Regions from separate parts of the Homo sapiens genome. Here region 2 is linked to region 1. The links are contacts of gene promoters, found by promoter capture Hi-C in blood cells and fetal thymus (Javierre and others, 2016). All regions are on one chromosome and are shown on one strand. Each heading gives the region's core, a stretch centred on a gene start or on the middle of the fragment in contact. The rest is flanking DNA. Distances are from core to core; before and after follow the strand shown. Region 1 holds the start of HSPA13 (heat shock protein family A (Hsp70) member 13). Region 2 holds the start of C21orf91 (chromosome 21 open reading frame 91).

Region 1 (7,483 bases), core at 4,595-7,094:
GTTAAATCATTAAATGATCTATCTCAGATTTTACTTAAAAAATTATATTCACCTTAACATTAACGGAATTTAGAAGAAAGAATTCCTCACTGCTAACATGTGTCCATTTTCTCTTTGAGCCTTTGTCCTGTAGCATCTGATTGGTTCTTGTTAAATACATATTTTATATTGTGCTATAGAGCTTTCAAAATTATAAACCTGTATAAAAATCTATCTACTTTACCTACATTGATGGTTAATATTATCATCTTGATTGGATTGATGGATGCAAAGTATTGTTCCTGGGTGTGTCTGTGAGGGTATTGCCAAAGGAGAGTAACATTTGAGTCAGTGGACTGGCAGAGGCAGATCCACCCTCAATCTGGGTGGGCACCATCTAATCAGCTGCCAGAGTGTGCCTGGAATAAAAGCAGGCAGAAGAATGTCGGAGGATTAGACTGCCTGAGTCTTCTGGCCTCCATCTTTCTCCCGTGCTGGACGCTTCCTGCCCTTGAACATCGGACTCTAAGTTCTTTAGCTTTTGGACTCTTGTACCTACACCAGTGGTTTGCCAAGGGCTCTCGGGCCTTCGGCCATAGACTAAAAGCTGCACAGTTGGCTTCCCTACTTTTGAGGTTTTGGGACTCAGACTGGCTTCCTTGCTCCTCAGCTTGCAGCCAGCCTACTGTGGGACTTCACCCTGTGATAGTGTGAGTCAATACACCTTAATAAAATCCCTTTCATATACACATATATACTATCAGTCCTGTCCCTCTAGAGAACCCTAATACACCTACCATATAGTTTGTTTATTTTGACTATGGTTGTGTGGTTTGGGAAGTGGTAAACCTTACTACAGAAGGTTTTCAACCCAACACAATTTTGAGAAAAATGCATCTCAGTCAAGGGTACTGTTACCTGCAAGGTTAGCAGCTTCAATTGTTGAATTTCTCTGTTTTAGATCAAATTCTGCTGGTACAGAAATGACAGCATTGGCAACTGGCATTCCAAGATATGCCTCTGCCATTTCCTTTAACTTCAACAATAGTCGAGAGCCAACATATTCTGGGGACACTGTGATGGTCTCATTACTTGTCACAGAAAACTCAACCATTCCATTTTTGTTTAAAACCTGTGAATAGGATTTGCAAATAAGTAAATAAATAAAAGAGTAAAAGCATACAGACATACATATATACATAAATACTAGATTTCATGAGAACTTACCCTTATCTTTACAAAATCAAAAAATGCATTTGAAATCTATCTAGTACATTTACCAAGATTAGAACTTGTTAAATGTTATACATTAAAATCTGTACAATGAATCCATATTAGTTTTACTTTTTTTTTTTTTGAGATGGAGTCTTGCTCTGTTGCCCACGCTGGAGTGCGGTGGCATGATCTCGGCTCACCACAACCTCCGCCTCCTGGGTTCAAGCGATTCTCCTGCCTCAGCTTCCCAAGTGGCTGGGAGTACAGATGCGTGCCACCATGCCTGGTTAATTTTTGTATTTTTAGTAGAGACAGGGTTTCACTATGTTGGCCAGGTTGGTCTTGAACTCCTGACCTTGTGATCCGCTCACCTCAGCCTCCCAAAGTGCTGGGATTACAGGTGAAAGCCACCGTGCTTGGCCCACACTAGTTTTTAATAACAGCAGAATAAAATTCATCACCACGCACATGACTAGAACACAAAAGATTCTCAATATATTTTTGCTGAATAAAGAAAGAATAAATGATGAAATGTAAGAAATAAAAGTTGCTCATTCAAGTATGTAACTCAGAATCTTTTCCCTTTTTTTCCCAAATTTCTTGTTTCTAAGAGTAATGGATAGCTGAAAGAATTTTCTAGTACATATTAACAAGAATAATTTTAGTACATCATTATGTACTTATCCAAGAATCAAATCTCATTTACATTCTTGTTTCCCATGAAAACATGTATTGTGCATTAGCTCATTGTCCCCGATAATGTGGGTGTACATTTAAAAAACTATTTTAACTCTAAAAAATACTATCCTAGTTTTACCAAGATTCTATTAATATAAATAAAAAAGAGAATTAATCTAAGAAATTATAAGAATGTTTTCTCACTTCAGGCCTCATAGTTAGGTTTCCATCATGAAAAACTGACCTTCCAAAAAGTACTTCACTAGTCTGGGGAAAACATAAAGAAGCTACATGGACAATATTAAACTAAGATACAAATATACCAGAACCATCAGTGCCCACATGAAACAAAAACAACAACAAAAAAATCAGATCACTTAGAAACATTAAGTAGTTTTTGGGTCAATAAGTAACGTACCCAAAGCTGTAATTCAGAGGGCATATATAGCTTTAGATGATTTTTTCATTAAAGATTGTAAGTCAGTAAAGAATCCCAAAAAAGAAGTCAAAAAACAACAAAGTAATAAACCTAAGAAATGCAGGGAGCAATTTTTTTTTCTTTGAAAACGGATGAAAAATTTGAACATTTTTATGGCTAGGTTTATTCAATAAGCAGCACTGATACAACTGTCTATTTTGAAACTAAATAATGGCCGGCATGGTGAAATCCCGTCTCTACTAAAAATACAAAAATTAGCCAGGCGTGGTGGCACACGCCTGTAATGCCAGCTTGGGAGGCTGAGGGAGGAGAATCACTTGAACCTGGGAGGCAGAGGTTGCAGTGAGCCAAGATCATGCCATTGCATTCCAGCCTGAGAGACAGAATGAGACTGTCTCAAAAAAAAAAACAAAAACTAATTCATTTAGAATTTCACTTCATTTAGAATTTCACTTCATAACTTCCAAGAAAAACTCCACATGGAAAAAAGCTTTAAATGTTTAAAAGAAAAAAAAAGCAGCGAAATCCAAACCAACAAATACATAAACGTATTAAGAGGGAAAAAAAAGTAGCAGTGGATAGGATGGGATAGGCTACAGTAAACATGATAAGAGTCTAAAATCAAAAATTTAAAACTTTGACATCCAGCTCAAAAACATCAGTGAAAAAAAAAAGGTAAGGAAAAGATAACAAAAACATATAATGAAGGTCTTTTATAGCTCACTAAGGAAAAGAAAAACACACCAAAACAAAAAAGGACAAAGAAAAATGGACCATAAAAGAAAATTAAAATATCAATAAAATTCTAAAAATTCTGATCTCACTAAAAAAAATCAAAATAAATAAAAATTAATACAGGATACTATTTTTCACTTATCTGACTGTTAAAGATTAAAAAAAATAACTAGCGAAGATACAGCCACTCTAAAAAATTATGGTTAAGAGCATATAACCTTTCTGGTGAGCAAACCAGAAAAATAAATCAAAAGCCTTAAAAACGTACACATTTGACCTATCAATTAGACTTCTAGCATTCAAGTTAGGAAACTTTCAGAGAAGTGTACAAAGATAAGTAAGGATATTACCGGAATCTCCAACATTAGTGAAAAACCACAAAAAAGTACACTGATAGAGACTAGTCTAATTAATAATGGAATAGTCATTCCACAAAATCATTAAAGATAATGACATGATCCTATTAATTATCCATGACATATTAAATAGCAAAAAATAGCACACCTGGTATGTTCTCTTTATATGTATATAAATATGTACACATACACACACAGAATATCTATCTATGGTACACAGGGCTTCATCAACCTTCCTGCTACCTTGAAAGAGCTAAGCAAGACATGCTGAGGATGGGACAGCAAGAAAATGGCAAGGCCTTAAGTACCTGTTAGCATTATGGAGTCAGTGATTAACTGATCCTATAGCTGCTGTGGAATTTCTGGTTATGTGAGATAACAGAACTTTCATGTATTAATAGATAAAACTAGACGAGATAGAATGTTTTGTGACATGAAGCCAAAGCATTAACTAAAAGAGTACACTAAAATTAATATAGATTTTAGATTAATCACTTACCTTAAATGGGTATCTGCCAATTTCAGCCTCCAACTCTTCTGCGGTAAAAATCTTGCCTATGAATCTTTTGGCATCATATATTGTGTTTTGAGGATTTGAATCTGCCAGCTCTACGCTTTCATATCCCACATATACATCATTGTCAGTAAAAGACACCATGCTGGGTATGCTGATATGCCCATTTTCATCTGGAATCACCTTTACTTTTCCTGTGCCAGGAAAAAACACCCCAACAGAACAATAGGTGGTGCCAAGATCAATACCAATCACTTTAGGAGTAGGCAATGGTAAATACTGTTGTGCCAAATAGCCGGCCAACAGGAGAGTCAAAACAGCCGATCCTGAAATAAAGGAAAATTAAAAGATGTATTTTATCAAACTAGTACAATGTACTAAATTACTGTAGCAAAGTCCCTTTAATATCACTCGTTGAAACAAGGCTAAAAAAGACAAATTTCAAAATTTTTTATAGGACTGCTGATAGCACTCCTCTCAGACAGCAAGTTTTTCAAAATGTAAACTGGTTATAATAAAATTTAAAATGAAGTAAACACAAACAACAAAAAACCCTATAACTGTATGTTTGTGTCATTCTCTAATAAATGTAATAAAATGTAAAAATATTTCAATAATATTTGTGCAGATGCTGACAAGAAACAACATTTATCTGGAGCAAAAGCCAGATATAATCTAATATTCTTGATCAATTGATATTTAGATTTTACAGCTTTATAAAAAGCTTCGATTATCTTTTTTTAAAAGCTCCATTATTAAAATTCTCACAAGAAAAACTTTATTATTTTATAAGTCTAAAATTCTCTCCTCGTATCTCACCTCCTTTTCCCTTTCAAAAGGATGAAATGAATAAATGGGATAAAATGATTTTGAAAGTTCCTTAGATATGAAACTGTCACTTCAAAACAGAACACAGTTAACTTTTTATGTATTTAAGTATGAACTAGGGACTTCCTTCTTGCAGTGGTAATATTTAGGGGAGAAGAAGCATAAAGGTGGGCAACCCTGACGGCAACATCTATGAAAGCTTCTTGAAGACAAGTTTCGTTCACTGTTGTATCCCCCAGACCAGGAATAGCAGATGCCCAACAAATACTAATTTAAAAAAAAAAGAAAAAAGAGTAGGAACAAATGCCACGCAGATTGTAAACATAAGCGAAGAAAGATGCCCCTTTAGTTTTTAATGAATCTCGTATTTGGTATCAGGAGGCTGTGTTATACACCTGTGTCCGCTCATATTACATATGACCCAAAACATGAATTTTCAGGGCTCTGTGTTACTAATTGTTAGCTCATCCTCATCAACACATAACTCAAAGAAATAAAACCAAGTGCGAATCCCACTTTCCACTTCCAGCTACAGGCAACATTTCAGAAGCATTTCATCACCTTGGAGACGCGGGGTGGGTGTGTGTGTGGGTGGGGGATAGGTAATTCCAAACCCGATGTGATGGAAAAAGCCTCCAAATTCAGCATCCCTGAGCCGACAGATCCGGATGTAGCTCCTCCCCCTTCCTCCACAAAGGGGTCCTGGAGGTGCACGTTCTCGCAGCCTTCCATAGCTTGCCCCAATTCAACAGGCAATTCAAAAACCTAGGTGCTGTTGAAAGGAACGCCTCCCTAAGCCTGATGTCCCTGGGATGGACACAGCTGGTCGCCGTCTATCCTACCTTGGCCTGCAGGGGCCGGGGCCCTCCTAGAGGCGTCCCCGCCCCCATCCACTCCGAACAGCCGAAAACCGTCTCTAAGTCACCTTTCTGACTCCCCTTCCGCTGCTCCAGCTAGATCCAGGAGGTGAGTCAACCACCCCTGCCCACTCTGGCATCCTCAGATCGCCTCTACGCCCGCAAGAGCAACAAGGACCCCCGGGAACCCACCTAAGATCGTCATCTCTCTGGCCATCACAGTCCCGCCGAACAGGCTTGTGATGACTGTACCAGACGTGAGGCACCGCCCCCACTCCTCCCGGCAGTCCCGCAGCCCCCTGGGAAATGTAGTCCGCTTGCTCTGAGGCAATCGGAGAAGCTATCGCTCTGACCAAAGCAAGGACTTCATCTACCGTGAGGGCGCGGGGCAAAGAGCCTCCATTCAACCGCTGCCAGTGACGACTGAGTCCCCCTTCCACGCAACGGCCGGCAGGACCAGTGAGACTGAGGGGGAGGAGCGCCGTGGCGAGAGACTGGCGTTTATAATCAAACCTGTGGTCCCGCGATCCTACTTGAGGGAAAACAGGCTATCTCTTTAGCCCCGCCCCGCGCTTTGCATTCTGGGAAGCGGAGTTCCAGCCTTTCTCTTTCCGCGGGAGGGAATGAAAGGGAGGGTGAGAACCGTTAGTTATTTCTTTCTTTGGTCGTGCCCCTAATCAGGTCCAGGATTCGAGTTTGTGTTCTTTCGTTTTAATTCCTTTTAAAGCGCGTTCGTTTGCCTGAGATCTAGCTTCTAGATGGCGTTCCTATAGCCTCCCGGAGCCCCAGCCATCCTCCGTAGAAGGGTCCCTGCCGCAGTGCGGGGCCTGAGGGAAGTCGGCTCTGGCGTCCGTGCTCCAACGCTGGGAGCAGCCCTGAAACTCCAGTGACCCTCAGCCGTCTGCCTTTGTTTTGGGATAAATGAATTCAAGCATTCTTCAGTCAATTCGATTTATCCAAGGGATCAGGGACACATTTTCTCTATTGCTAGCACTGACGTGGGCCATTAAAAACAAAAACAAAAACGAAATTAAAAAGAAAACCCTTAGCTCTCTCTTCAAGTAAGTCTTAAGTGGCCAAAATTGACCTTATGGGCAAGTCCTGTAACGTGACAGCCATTTTAGGACGCTTGTGACATGCTGTTCAGGTTCTAGTCTGAAGTAGGATTTTTCTCGCATCTTGGTCACTGGTAGCACTTAATGACTCCTCTGAGAGTGGTTTTGTCATTTTTGCTGTTAGAGTTCACGATAACTAAGATCCTGGAGAATTGAATCCATTTTCTCAGCTTAGATATAAATCAAACCATCCCTGTTGACAACACGTCAGCCTGCTGTGGGAATACATTGCTGGTTATTTCTGACTTATCAATGTGAATTTTGATTATGGAAGCTGAATTCTGGTTGATAGGGATCCATTGTAATGTTCTCTCTACTTTTGCGCATTTTTAAGTATTTCATAATGCGAAATATAAAAAGTGTGTGTCTATAGTGAGTGCTGTTCAATAAGATTCTTATAAGGAGTGAAGAATTCAAGCACTTAGTTCTTAAGTATTACTTGTAATGGGCAGTGGGCTGGAGGTGTTCCAGGCAGACGGAACTCAATTACCAAGAGCACAGAAGCAAGAGATCATCTATTCCATAGATTAGAAAGTGGTGGATCATAAAGCATGAGGTAGAATTCTGAGAGACAGAACTAGAGACTTAAACCAGATTAAGATTAGCCGTCTGTGACAAGCACTGGTCATTGGGATTCTCCCTGCCACTCACTCCTTTCTCCTTGCTAACAAGATCCTGATTTGTTCAAGAAGCAGGTAAAGATTATGTGATCTCAGAGTAGAAGGCCTTTAGAATTAAGATTGAACTAAATAGGTTGTATTCATTTT
Region 2 (7,372 bases), core at 3,206-5,705, 3.4 Mb after region 1:
AACATTAAAAAATATCTGAGTCCTCAAAGTGTGTTTCTCAGGTCCTTAAAGCATATCACCTGTGGCTTGGAAGTACATAAAATGTAGGCTCCTCTTTCTTTTTCATTATTGTAAAGTCAGAGAAAAAGCCAACTTAGAGCCATGCCCACAGTACAAAATCTGTTCAACAAGATTAGATTGTCTTTTGTTATTTCTTCCTTCCTTTGTCTTCATTTTATAAACGTATGCATGCACACAGCTTTTAAACAAGAGGCTAATTGATTAGGAAACCAGTGTTGATTTGATGTAAGCAACAATCCAAAAAGTAGAAAATATTATTATTGTTTACTACAAATGTATGGACTCAAAACTAGCTTAACTGTTATTATTCCTCAAGAGAATTTATTTTTACTCAGCCTCTTCTCGGAGAAGAGTGCTTTAGACCAAAGCTAGCAATTATAAAGCTAAGAAATCAGGCAACTGCAATACTACCAAACTACAAAAAATTTACACTAAACTAGTAAAGTTAAATGTCATTTTTAAAAAGCCCCTCTTACATTCTAGTCTATTGACAGGCATTGTGTTGGGAACTTGGTAGAGGAAAGAAAACTTCAAAAATATTTTAAAAGATTTACCGACAACAAATATACCTTGTTATTTTTCTAGTATGTAATTATTATTATGACTTTTTTCCCCCACTGATTTCTAAAGACCCGTATACTGATATAAAAACTAAAATTTTGTGCAATTCAAGATCCTCATTTCCCTCCTCTTTTCTAAAATAATTTTTTTTTTTTTGAGACAGAGTTTTGCTCTTGATGCCCAGGATGGAGTGCGATGGCACAATCTCAGCTCACTGCAACCTCCACCTCCTGGGTTCAAGCGATTCTCTTGCCTCAGCCTCCTGAGTAGCTGAGATTACAGGCATGTGCCACCATGCCTGGTTAATTTTGTATTTTTAGTAGAGACGGGGTTTCTCCATGTTGGTCAGGCTGGTACCGAACTCCCAACCTCAGGTGATCCGCCTGCCTTGGCCTCCCAAAATGTTGGGATTACAGGCATGAGCTACTGTGCCGGCCTACAAAAATCTTAAACAAAAAAGTTGTAATACACTAGCTGATCACTGTAGTGAAAATGAAAATGCGTATTTGTGAGAGCTGAGAAATGACACCAGATAGAGAAGAAATTATTTGACTCTAATTTTTCTTACAAAGATTAAATTGGGATTTTAATATATAAAACCTTGAATATACATAGAATATTAAACGAAATAGTTCTAATTCAAATTGAGAATTGTCTTTTACACTGAAGGGAACTATGATTTCAAAAACAAAGGACTTATTCCATGCTTACATGCTGAGATATTATCAGAGCTGAAATGTTAAGAGATGGTACCTAAGGTAATATTTGTATATTCTCTATATAATGACTGAGAACCAGTTAAAAGGCTTATTTTAAAAAGCTAGAAAAGCAATTACGAAAATTTAGGGTTCTGTGGAAAAATTCGATCATGGCATGAACTCCATTAATGATGATTTGCCAGCAAACACTGGTTAGAAAAAGCTGGCTGAGAGAATAGCAAGGATAACCAATTAGGATTAGAACATCAGCCCTATTGCTATAAAATAACTATTGACAGTAGATCAATGGTATTAAGATCACATATACTAGAACCAGACTGCCAGGCTTTAAAGTCCAGGACCAACAGTTATGAGCTGTGTGACTTCAAACTGTATTTCTTAGGTCGCCAAGGTTCAGTTCTATCACATTTAAAATAGAAAATGACAGTAGTCATTCCAAAGCTATCTTGAGTTAAATAAGATAATCCACATAAGGGGTTTAGCACAGTGCCTGGCACATAACAACAGCTTGCCATCACCACTACAGCAACCCTGGGCAGTCCAACTTTTTGGCTGTTTCCTTAAATGTAAAATACAGGGTTTGGACTAGATAATTTCTAATGTCTTTACTCATCTAAAATTAAAATTCTACAATGTATCAACAATATACAAGCCAACTCTATTTCCAAAGAACATAAATTTGGATTTTCACCCCAGCATGATTTAAGTACTGTAAAAGAAACTTATTTTTAAGATATCCTTTTATTTTTATTTAATTTTTTAGAGATGGGGTCTTGCTATGTTGCCCAAACTGGACTTGAACTCCTAGGCTCAAGCAATCCTCTCACCTTAACCTCTGGAGTAGCTGAGATTGTAGGAACACACCACTGTTCCTGTTATGTCATCTTTTGAAATTAGCTATAATCACTACATTTATTAAAGCTGAAGTTATAGATATTCTATGTAATCCACAAGAAATCCATAATCTTCCATCACATACTGTTTGGTGACCATAATAATTTCTGAATAACAAGTCCTAACAGGAATTTCAAGGTATATAATCCCCCACTATATTTTTTTAAACAATAAGAACATTTCATACCCCATACTTAGTAAACAGAAAATAAAGATCATGAAAAATTTCAAATATATAATACAGAAAAAAGGAAAGAACTATTTTGAAACTGTCCAAAATCTAGAGGTTTAATAAAGTCTCTCTACTGATATGTTACAACTCAAAACTCAAATTACAGGCCAAATTTTTTTTGCAGGAATATTAAGGTTTTTTTTAGTATGACTCATAAATATCTAAACCAAAAATCAATTGTAATATGACAACACTAACTGCACCAACCCAAATAAATCCTTCCAATAGGGCTTTTTTTTGGGGTTTCTTTTTGGATTTGGAGAATTTTTCTTCATATATCTTAGGGACATTATTAAAAAAATTTTAAAAACCTTTTCAGGTTTTAAAAATTACCAACAGTGTGTGTGATCACTGAAAAGAGGTTAATCTAAAAATTTTAAAGTATTTTTCCAGATAATAAGATCATACTGGTGAGAAAAGAGTTCGGGCTCATCTCACTCAAATACTTGCATAATAGGCTCGAAAGAATAAAAAAATTGTTATGTTACTTCTTAATATAAAAAACACACAGGTCTGTTAAAATCTGACAATTCAATAAGCTCTCAAACCAGAAAACACGTTTCCCAGTCAACACTCATACTTATTTCTGTATTAGGAAAAATGGGGTTGTTGCAGGGGTCTTTAAAAAAAAAAGATTTCTCTTAAATTCGTAACTCTGTTAACTGCACCTTCATTTCCAGAAACCTTATCTTTAACAAATCTCTACACTATTCATACTTAGCACAATTTCCAATCATTGAAGACATTTTAGTTTTACCTTACAATCAGTACAAAGCAGCTGTGTTAAATTCATTCCATAAGATCAAAACTATACTGTGTCCTTACCCTCAATATTTAGCTCAAAACAAATGTGGCAGAAGGAGAGTGTTTCTTTGTCTGTTCCCAGTTTACAAACACTGCAAATGTTGTCATCATTCAAATCAATGTTTACAAACTGCTCCTCTTCGTTCATAGTGCCCCTATTAAGAAACAGAAAAGGAAAGTTACACAATTTCATGAACCTGCCTTTGGGGTAGTTCCCTTTACTGGGAACTTCTAGGAAATAAGGATGCTGTTCAGCTCATTTAAAGCAAAAGCTCCATCAAACAAGCATCGCCATACTTGCACTCCAACATTGCACTTTTCCTGTGGAAAGACACAAAGCTAGTAAAACTTAAAGCCAGGCCATAGGTGACACTATGTCCGTGTCTTTTTTGTCCTATAGTTGATTGGGTTAGTGGCACCTGAAGGAAAGAGATTTGCCGGCATTCTAGTCCTCCTCCTTCGTCCCCCAACCTCGAATAATCAGAGGGCTTAGCAGCGAGGCCTTTTCAGCTACCAGGTTCTGTCAACCTAGTTAACGCTGTGAGAAACAGGAAAAACGACCTGCACGGGACACTGCTTTGCTAACTTCATTGGGGGAACCTCAGATGCGCCTCGCGAACTCGGAGTTGCGAAGCTTCGCATCGAACGGAGATCGGCGGCAGCAAAATGCACGTGGGTACCGAATACCCGGGGAGGGCGTCCCGCCGTGTCCGGGGCAACTACACCGAAGGCCGAGCGGCGGCTTCACGGTACCGGCCGGGCACCGCCGGAGGGGCCCAAGCCGGAGCTGGGAGAGCCGCGGCATCCTGGAGCCCGGCGGGCGGGAGAGCCTCGTCCCATCGCTCCGGGATTCCTCCCAGAGGGAAGAAAGCGTCCGAGGGCCACGGCGGCCGGTCCGCCCAGCCTCAGCGTCTCGGGGAGCCGGGTCCTGGCCCGGCCTTCGGCGTTGGGGGCGCGCGGCCGCCCCCAGGGAGTCGCGGACCCAAGTCCGTCTTTCCGTCGGTCTGTCCGTCGGGGCGCCTGGCGCGCAGCAGCGCGAGGGGCCACGGGGCTCGGAACTCGAAGGAGGCGGAACGATGGGACTGGGGGTCGGGGCTCAGGTGGGATGGGAGCAGGGCTGCGGGGTCTTTACCGTCCGGCTCCGCGGGCCACCACCGCCGTTCCGTGCGGCTCGGGTTCCTCCACTATTGTTTCCGGCCGCAGCAGAGGCGGCCGCCGCGCGCCTGGCCCCGCCCTCTCCCGCCGGCTCCATCCCGTAAAGGCTGCGGGGAGGGTGGCGCGGCCGCGGGCACACCTGCGCGCTCGCCGGGCTGCTGTGGGTCCGCCCCTCCGCTCCTGCACCGACGCCGCACCTTCGCCTCGAGTTCTCCTGTGATCCCGTGTTTCCTGGCCGGAGTTTCTTACCGTTCTCTGGAACGTAGCTCCTCACACACCCCTCCTCGAGGTGCGTAGATAGACGAATCCGTTCCACCTCTCCCTTCAGCCTAGTGCAAACTACTGCCCCGGGGCGGGGGCCGCAGGCGGCGGGGGTAGGAAAGCCGCGGGTGGATGGCAGAACGGGAGAGGTGCGTGGGTGGCACTTTGACTTCAGGAGAAAGAAGCAGAATACTGTCACTGAACTTATAGTTAAGTGCCAGTTGAAGTATCTAACGAAGGAAAAGTTCATATTCAGGTGTCATGATAGAGGCATAATTTCAAATACAGAATCTTTTCAAATACATTATTTGTTGTGGGGCGCCCCTGCCCCCAATATGGTACATCCCTCAACGCCCACGGGAAAAATCCCGAAGCCCCACCTCTTATTTTTAGGTCCTGCTTGGTTCTCAAATTCTTTGCTTGACTTTTGTTTAAGCTATTCTGTTTTTTTTAGGGTATGGTTCTTGCAGTACTTTCACTTACATTTTCCATTGTAGTCCTCACAGTAACCTACAGAGGAGAAACAGGAACTGTTCTCTCATGTTGCAGCCTACGAGTAATTGACCCAGGTTATCACAGTTGGTTAGAAAAAGGCTGGGACTTGAACCGAAGGCTACTGACCTAAGATCAATGTTATTTTCTACAGCATCATATGTATGTGTTCTGGTTGCACTCACATAGAAAGAGGGCTAGCCTGTCAATCTACATGTAGGCATTCTTGAACTGATGGTTAGGAATGGACTGTCTAGATCTTGGAAACTTCTGGGCCAAATTAGCACTCCAGTTATGGCATTTGTGCCTCGCAGGAGCGATCTGTGTCCTTGCCACCTAAATTGTAGTAGATGAACAAACAACATTGACATTACTTGGTTTCCTGTTAGAAATGTAGAATCTCAGGCCCCACTCGAGATTTCCTAAATCAATACTTGCACTTTAACAAGACCGCCAGGAGATTCCTATGTTCATCGAAGTTTGAGATGCACTAATTGAAATGAAAAGCCTGTGCTTTTTCTCTTCGAATTTCTCATTCTAGGTAACTACGACTAAGATACCTTGCATGTTGGATTCTACCCATCTTTTCAATAAAAAGCATTCTTTTAAAAAGGACTCTTTTAAAGTGATTCAATAAAAGTGTTCTAAAATCACTAAAATTTAAAAATTGAAACAAGTTATTTTCACTTCTCAGAATTGTCTTCCTTCCTATGGCATTTCACATTGTTTACTTGCTATTCTTAAAACTCTTCTCTCTTGTTGTTGGCTTTTTAAAAAAAATCAAGGAATAATTTACAGAAATAAAATGCTTCCATTTTAAAAGCATTATTTGATGAGTTTTGGCAAATACATACACTTGAGTAACCACCACCCCAGTGAGGATACAGAACATTTCCACAGCCCCGACATTTCTTTCTGTTCCTTTCTGGTCAAGCTCCTTCAACATGGGATCTAATTTATATGACGAAGTGTTTTAGTTTTGTCTGTTATAGGAATTCATATACATAGAATTAAGCAGTGTGTGTTCATTTGTGATTGGCTATTGTCATGCAGCATGTTTTTGAGATTCACGATGGTATTTTGTAACAGTGGTTTCTTTTCACTGCTCGTCTTAGTCAGTTTGTGTTCCTATAAAGGAATACCCAAGGCTGGATAATTTATATAGAAAACAGGTTTATTTGGCTCATGGTTCTGGAGGCTGTACAAGAAGCATGGTGCCAGCATCTGTTTCTGGTGATGGCCTCAGGCTGATTCCATTCATGATAGGAGGCAAAGGAGAGCCAGTATGTGCAGAGATCATGTGGCCTGAGAGTGAGCAAGAGAGAGAGGGGAGGAAATTCCAAGCTTGCTCTCTCTTTATTTATTTTTTATTTTTTATTTTATTTTATTTAAAAACGAGTTCCACTGGGAATTAAGAGTGGGAATTGATTCACACCCTAGAGAATGGCACCAAGCCATTCATCAGGGATCCATAACTAAGCTCCAACCCCTTGCTCTCCACTCCCCAACCAAGCTTCACCTCCAACGCTGGGGATCAGTGGGGCATGGGGGCTCATACCTGTAATCTTAGCACTTTGGGAGGCTGTGGTGGGCTGATCGTTTGTGTCTAGGTGTTCGAGACCAGCCTGGGCAACATCGTGAAACCCCATCTCTACCAAAAAACCCCACAAAAATTAGCCAGGCAGGGTGGTGCATGCCTGTAGTCCCATCTACTCAGAAGGCTGAGGTGGGAGACTGGCTTGAGTCCTAGAGGTGGATGTTGTGTGAGCTGAGATTGTGCCACTTCACTCCAGCCTGGGTGACAGAGTAAGACTCTGTCTCAAAAAAAAAAAAAAAGAGAAAAAGATGTCCACACGCTAATTCTTGGATATTTTGAATATGTATGTAACATAGCAAAAGAGACTTTGTAGATATAATTAAGGTTATAAACTTTAAAATAGGTTTTCCTGGATTATTGCGCTGAGCCCAATCTAATCACATGAACCCTTATAACCAGAGATCTTTCTCCAAGTAAGCTCAGAGAAATGTAGCAAAGAGAAAGTCAAAGTGATTAGAAGCATGAGAGGGACTTGACCCACCATTGCTCTAGGAGCAAACACTGGTCTCCAGCTGGTAGCCAGCAAGGAAATGGGAGCTACAGTCTTTAAACTGCAAGGAACAGAATTCAGCCAACAGCCTGCATAGATTGAGAAGC

The links. The method cuts DNA at HindIII sites, captures the fragments that hold promoters and counts their contacts. A CHiCAGO score of 5 or more calls a contact.
Region 2: the fragment with the promoter of C21orf91 here is called in contact with the fragment with the promoter of HSPA13 in region 1 in 4 of 17 cell types (M0 macrophages, total B cells, total CD8 T cells and 1 more); the score reaches 8.2 in M0 macrophages.

The regions. Positions count from the first base shown.
Region 1 is chr21:14,377,302-14,384,784 of GRCh38, forward strand. It overlaps HSPA13 (heat shock protein family A (Hsp70) member 13), which reads right to left and starts at 5,845. Exons shown (of 5, transcript NM_006948.5): 1 at 5,794-5,845; 2 at 3,902-4,242; 3 at 898-1,111. The coding sequence starts at 5,818. LOC105369304 (a long non-coding RNA gene) reads left to right here and starts at 5,465. Exons shown (of 2, transcript XR_007067924.1): 1 at 5,465-7,483. RefSeq lists enhancers at 5,552-5,861, 6,252-6,381. The HindIII fragment of the contact is 7,322 bases long and covers 4,942-7,483 here.
Region 2 is chr21:17,814,901-17,822,272 of GRCh38, forward strand. It overlaps C21orf91 (chromosome 21 open reading frame 91), which reads right to left and starts at 4,456. Exons shown (of 5, transcript NM_001100420.2): 1 at 4,403-4,456; 2 at 3,292-3,425. The coding sequence starts at 3,418. The region is part of intron 2 of LOC124900465 (a long non-coding RNA gene); the gene reads left to right. RefSeq lists a silencer at 4,071-4,850 and an enhancer at 5,101-5,150. The HindIII fragment of the contact is 2,618 bases long and covers 3,903-6,520 here.